Linked DNA regions of Homo sapiens: region 1 is linked to region 2. Evidence: promoter capture Hi-C in 16 types of primary human blood cells and fetal thymus (Javierre and others, 2016). All regions are on one chromosome and are shown on one strand. The core of a region is centred on a gene start or on the middle of the fragment in contact, and the rest is flanking DNA. Distances in the headings are between cores, read along the strand shown.

What was found. The method cuts DNA at HindIII sites, captures the fragments that hold promoters and counts their contacts. A CHiCAGO score of 5 or more calls a contact.
Region 1: a fragment that was not itself captured here is called in contact with the fragment with the promoter of C8orf34 in region 2 in 2 of 17 cell types (M2 macrophages and endothelial precursors); the score reaches 7.9 in M2 macrophages.

Annotation. Positions count from the first base shown.
Region 1 is chr8:67,809,937-67,813,382 of GRCh38, forward strand. No RefSeq gene overlaps it. Among named protein-coding and RNA genes, the nearest start is that of CPA6, 65 kb to the left of the region's middle. The HindIII fragment of the contact is 1,372 bases long and covers 665-2,036 here.
Region 2 is chr8:68,329,369-68,332,617 of GRCh38, forward strand. C8orf34 (chromosome 8 open reading frame 34) reads left to right here and starts at 1,587. Exons shown (of 14, transcript NM_052958.4): 1 at 1,587-1,971. The coding sequence starts at 1,645. It overlaps C8orf34-AS1 (C8orf34 antisense RNA 1), which reads right to left and starts at 2,123. Exons shown (of 3, transcript NR_038877.1): 1 at 1,939-2,123. The HindIII fragment of the contact is 3,988 bases long and covers 1-3,249 here.

The DNA of each region.
Region 1 (3,446 bases), core at 101-2,600, 520 kb before region 2:
TGAGAGATTTGGGTTGATGCTAATGGCAGATCCAAAATAATTGCCACTGAAGCAAGATTAAAGTTGATTTCTTTGTAATGCAAAAGTCCTAATGAGAAGTTCAGGCTTGGTATGGTGGGTGTACCTTCCTCAGAGTCCAGGCTCCTATCTTATTGCATGACAGTTTTAAACATTCAGCTTCCACATGGGACCTACGATGAGTATTTCCAAATCCAAGTCAGTGGGAACTGGATGAGGGGAAGTGAGTGGTGTGGCTTTTCCTTTAAGGACCAGACCTAGAGTTGTACACCTCGTTTCCATTCATGCTGCCATGTCTAGAAGTTAGCCAGGTTCCCATACTTTTGTTGCAAGTGCAGTCTTAAAAACATAACCTTCTGCTGGGCAGTTATGACCTCTGTTAAAAATACTTATTATTTTGTTAATACTATATAAGAAGGATATCATGAATATTAGAAATAACTAAAGTCTCTGCCACAGATACGATGACAAAGCACTTGGTCGATGAACAATGCTGATACGCATTACTACTGACATCCTCCATCTTATTGGCTTAGGGTCTATTATCTCCTACACACAATATTATTTTGGATTTTGATTGAAAAGTAAAATATTTGGGGATCGTGTTACTTGAAAATTTTAGGAAGTAATATCTGTCTCTGAATCAAGCTTCGATGTGAAATAGATCCTGAACCAAATCCCTAGAGAAAGTACCTTTGTATTTATAAAAGGATTTTTGTTCCTATATTGCCTTGTAGAAAAACAGTAATAAATAATGACATTTAGAAACCTTATCAGGGTATCGCACACACTCCAAGCTCTATGGCATTTCAAGTGGTATGTTTACTTTTGCAGAACATTCGAGCCCTTAATGCTGCTGGCGGCTATAACATTTTTCTAATTATTCTTTACAAGCAATGAATTGCACAGTTAGCAATTTACCTGATGGGTAGAACATGGTTAATATGGTGAGTGGCCTGTTTACTTATCTAAGAAGACCTTTTAAAATCTCATAATGTTCACTTTAATAGGTAAGAAGAGGTAAATTATAGGGTTTGAAATGAGTTGGCCCTTGGAAAAATTGTGTAGTGAGCAAGCTGTTCTTTAACATTTTTCCACATTCTTTTTAGGTTTTATTCTTCCTTCTCTTGCCAGTGGCCAGCACCATTAAGTTTCTGCTCCTTTGAATGCATCTCAACTCTGTCTTGTTGGCAGAGAGTGAGTACCTATTATTATTATCACTTTGTTTATGAAGAAACCCCTTATGCCAAAGAAATAGAACCTAAATTCCTGGGACGGGGGTACCAGAAAGATTTGGAAGAAGATACTTTTCTTTGTACCCATAAATTCCTACCATGTTGGCAGCTGATTCCTCATACACAAAGGTGGGCATTGGCTAGATTCGTTGGAAAAGAAGCATTTCCATTTTTGGCAAAATCAGCACATGGTTATGAGAATAAGGAAGGAGGCAAGGGTTACTTGGCCTTGAGACTATTAAAATTACTGAGACTATTAGAATGTTTTGTGAAGTTTGGAGTGGGCTTTGAGTTATAATTATTAATACTGTTATTCTTGATGAGTACAGATAGAAGAATAGCCATACTTCTCTGAGAATTTTTATTTACATAATTGATTACACCACATTGGAACTGTTTGAGGTCGCTCTGCCTAGAGAAATGGTGCATGTCACAAAAGGAGATGTTTAAATACCTTCCCTCCTTCCCACGTGGCTTAGCTTTTTTAAAGTGGGCTTGGGCTGACTTCTTTTGTTCCAACACTTGAAGCGATATCTGAAAAACTGAGAGTTGACAGCAGATAACATTTTTGGGGAATTTTGGAATCCCTCAGCTGCATCTTTGACCATACAAGTCATTTTTATTTTTTTCTTTAAATTTTATGTATTCTATTTAAAAATGCATTTTATTTATCTTTTAACTAAACTTTTATTTTAAGTTCAGGGTACACGAGCAGGTTTGTTATGTAGGCAAACTTGTGTCATGCGGGTTTGTTGTACAGATTATTTTGTCACCCAGCTTTTAAGCTTAGTAGCCATTATTTTTCCTGATCCTCTCCCTCTTCCCACTTTTCACCATCTGATAGGCCCCCATGTGTGTTGTTCCCCTGTAGTCTATGTGTTCTCATCATTTAGCTTCCAGTTATAAGTGAGAACACGTGGTATTTGGTTTTCTGTTCCTGCATTTGCTAAGTTTGCTAAGGAAAATGGCCTCTAGCTTCATCCATGTTCCTGCAAAGGACATGATTCATTCTTTTTTGTGGCTGCATAGTATTCCATGGTATATATGTGTCATATTTTCTGTATCCACTCTATAATTGATGGGCATTTAGGTTGATTCCATGTCTTTGCTATTGTGAATAGTGCTGCAATGAACATATGCACACATGTATTTTTATGACAGAAAGAGCTATTCCTTTGGGTATACAGCAGGTAATGAGATTGCTGAATTGAATGGTATTTCTGTCTTTAGGTCTTTGAGGAATCACCACACTGTCTTTCCCAATGGTTAAACTAATTTACACTGGAAATTGAGAGTGTTGCTAAGTACTAAAAATCATAAAATATTTTCTTGATAAAAAATTATATATAGATATGTCTTGTTATCTTGTGGCTCCAGCAGTTCAACTTTTCTCCCAGGGAAGGTAGTGATAGAGAAGATGTGTTAGTAAAATAAAAGCTCAGCCAGGCGCCATGGCTCATGCCTATAATTCTAACACTTTGAGAGGCCAAGGTGGGTGGATTGCTTGACTCCAGGAATTCAAGACCAGCCTAGGCAATATGGTGAAACTCTTCTCTAATAACAACACAATAAAATTAGCTGGGTGTGGTGACACATGCCTGTAGTCCCAGCTGCTTGGGAGGCTGAAGTGGGAGGATTGCTTGAGATTGAGAGGTCAAGGCTGCAGTGAGCTGTGATTGCACCACTGTACTACAGCCTAGTGAGAACACATCTTGGAAAAAAAAAGAAAATAAAAGCTCAAGACATTTTCAAATTGTGCAAAAGTTGGAAAAATGTGGCTGTAAGGGAAAAATCACCTAACAGTGGAGCTTGAAGCTTTCTTACATTCAACTGGCCATCAAATTTGGCTTTGTAACTTGCAACACTGAAAAAGAAGCTAAAATTAGTAGTTCACATTTTAAAATGAACAAACAAGGATGCCCACACTTGCCACTTTAATTCAACACAGTACTGGAAGTCATATTGAGAGCAATTAGGCAAGAGGAAGAAATAAAAAGCATCCAAATTGAAAACAAAGAAGTTAAATTGTCCTTATTTGCAGATGACATAATCTTATATAGGGAAACCCCTAAAACATCCACCAAAAAACTGTTAAAACTAATAAACAAATTTATTAAATTTGCAGGATATAAAATAAACATACCAGATATTCATAAATGTGACAAATGAACAGCAGGATTATGAATTATCAAA
Region 2 (3,249 bases), core at 337-2,836:
TCATTTAAAGAAGCATCCTCCTGATGCCTCTTAAAAGAGAAAGACTCTTGATTTCAGGAAGCGTACCATCTTGGTACCTTATGTGGTATCAAAAATAGTAGGCTTTTTAGCTGGGTCATAGATGGCCTTCCTTATGGCTCTACGCTATACCTTTTAGCAAATAGAAATGTTGGTATTCACTCTGTGTATTTAATTTCTCCTGGACACATTAAAAAATACATAAGTAAATATACCTTCGAACCAAAATGGAAAGCACGAGGCAACCCTGGACACCTCACTGCTATTTAACTTAACCCTCCCTAGGCAGATCATATGAGTCCGATTGTAAAAGTATTAATGTGGACATCTTTCCACTCTGGATCAAGTCCATTTCAGGTTATCAGGGATGGTTAAGCTCCTAGCTATTCTAGCAGATTTCTTATGTCTTAATGCATGAAATTAATAATAGTTCCTGGGATATTCCACACTTATCTATTACATGTTTCCACATATTTAAAATACAGAAGGAAAACATGAACACCAATAAAGAAACTATGAGTAACAGAAATCCAGAACACAGTGAAGAAAGAAAGAAAAAAATATATACTGCTGCAGTCAGCTTTTAGGAAAACTGTTTCCATCATTCTGAAAATTTATATTTATTAGAAATAAATCTAATTTTGGCAGCACATCATGGTTAGGAGCCAGGGAAATTGTCATTGGGACCTTAGTATTGTATTTCACAAGAAAGAGAGCTCTGTGAGGAAGCCTGGGCTATCTGCAAACCTTCGACTCGGAAATCCCTGCATAATAAGAAAGGTATTGGCTAAATTTGAGCAGCTCACGCAGTATCTAGAGGAAACATTATGAAGTGGGATAGTGTGGTGTCTGAGATGCAGTTATAGGTATACAGACATGACTCAAGGCGTGGATTAGGAAGGCCAACTTTGGAGGGGAGGGCTGGCTCGCTCATTTCTCTTCTCCCTGTCAAATGCTGAAAGGCTGGTTCCAGCCTTTGAGCTCCTGCACTTTGAGAGTTTTCAGCTGGGTTCTCAGGCTGCGTTCACCCGTCGACTTGCTCCAGGCCAAACCAGATTTTGAAAAGGAAGGCAACTTCTTTTTCGCGGCAAACCCTTAAACCCACGCACCTTCTCAAAACTCTGCCCTTCTCAACCCCTGCGCTAGAGTAGGCAGGGCAGAAGGTGCTGAGGAGAGGCTCAGAAGGGGCGGTGGGGACGATCCCCTTTCGAACTGCATTTGTAGCTGCCAAGGAGTAGCCAACAAGCACCAGATTTATGTGCACTTTGAAAGAAGCACCTTCACCATTGGCTTTTTAAGCGGCGCTGTCGCTAGGGAGCGGCTGGTAGGGCGAGCAGCCTCGGGGAGCAGCCCGGGCTGTTTGTTCCGTCACCGGGGAAAGGAGGTACACACAGTCGCGCGCGCACGGACACACACACACACGCACGCACGCACACACACCGGTGGCGAGTTCGAGCCCCGCGGCCCCTGTCCGCCCGCGTGCGCCCCTCGACACAGCTCGCCTCCCGCCCCCTGATTCCTGCTGCTGCCGCCCAGAGGAGAAAGGAACCTCTGCCTCGAATTTCCCCACTGCGCCGGGCGCTGCGGAGAGCGGCGAGGGTGGGCGCGAGGCGGAGAACGCGATGAATGAGTTCTCCCCTCGCCTCGGAGTTGTCTGAGTTGGCGGCGCTGCGCCCAGGCTTCCGGCTCTCAGCGCCCCACGCGCGCGTGGCTCCCCGGGCTGCCACCCACGCCCGCGGCCGGGGCCGAGCCAGCCACGCAGGGCAGCCGAGGCTCCGGAGCTCCTGTCCCGGCCCCAGTCCGGGTAAAAGGAGGGTTGTCCCCAGCGGAGGCGCACAGCCGCGCGTTCTCCCTGCACTCTCTTCGCGGTCCCATCTGTTCCCCATGGCGTCTCATCCGCAAACCCGGATCCAGGCTTACCTGGAGAAGAACAAGATCGGTCCCCTGTTTGAGGTAAGGCGCTGTGGAGGAGGGCAGTCCCGTTGTCTTTAGGGGAAGGGGTGCAGTAATGAAAACAGAACACTCCCAATCCCACCCCTCCCAGGGAAGGAGGGCTAGAGAACCAACGCGCGGGAGAGGGCGCCCTGGGATTCACTGGCATTCGCTCTGTCCCGGCCAGGTGTCCTGGAACGCGGCCGGGCGGGCACTTAGCCAGTTACCTGAACGCGGACAGGTGAGCTCGGGAGGGCCCAGCCTCAGCCTGGCAGGGGAAGTTTTGGCCCTCTGACTGTCCTGCACCTCTCAGCTACATGTTCAGGACCCGGGCAGGCTGAGGCAGGCGACGCATACGGATGCACACACTCAGACTGTGTTGCACACGCACACTTTCTTTTTTGAATTCACGCTATCTTGAGTGTTCGTGTTGGATTTTCTTTTTTCTTTTCTTTTCTTTCCTTCTTTTTTTTTTTTTTTTTTTTTTTTTTTTTAATGAGGGCGGTAATAGAACCCGAAAAGGTGGAGGAGGTGCTTAGCAGTTAATACAATTAACTGGAAGACAGCTGAACTGGTGAGGAGTAGGCTTCAGTCGGTGCGGGCGTGATGAATGAAATTGGCAAACTGAGAGACTGCCATTTGGTCACTGGACGAAAGGAGAGTCCTTTGCACTGCAGACCCCACATGTGTTAGCAGGAGAAAGGGACGGAGAAAGGTTCTGAAAAGCACACACGTATTTGTGGAAGAAGACTATAGCTCTGAGCTGGTTTTGTTTTTTTTTCTCTCTCTCGCCATTAAAGAATTTAAGACAAAAATACAGTAGAAGGAAGAGCGCGAGGACACGAGAAAATGAGAACAAGAGATTGAAGCCTGGCACCAGCAAAGCGTCCCGCGGGTTGCCAGGGTGCTGAGCAGGGGTGGGGCGTGCGGACCGTAGTCAGAAGTGGAGGCCCTTGCGGAGGGACTCCCTTGGTCCCATCCAGTTCAGGGGGCACTGACCGGCGGCGAGAGTTCGCGGGAGGGTCGAGGTGCTCCCGCCTTGCCCCCGCCTTGCCCCCGCCTTGCCCCCGCCCCCCACGTCTCCCAGAAGCAGTTGTAGCTGTTCTTAACAGCTTGGTTTGGGGTGAGGGCTTGGTATGGGGAGGAGGTTACGTGTCAGTGTCTGAGAGAGGCAGAATCGCGGCAAGTGGAAGGGGCTGCACTGGAGATCGCGGAAAACCTAGCAAAGACTGAAGAGAAGCAAGTGAGAACTGTGGAGAACAAAAAAATAATGCGAGTTAATGACCCTGCAAAAAAAGG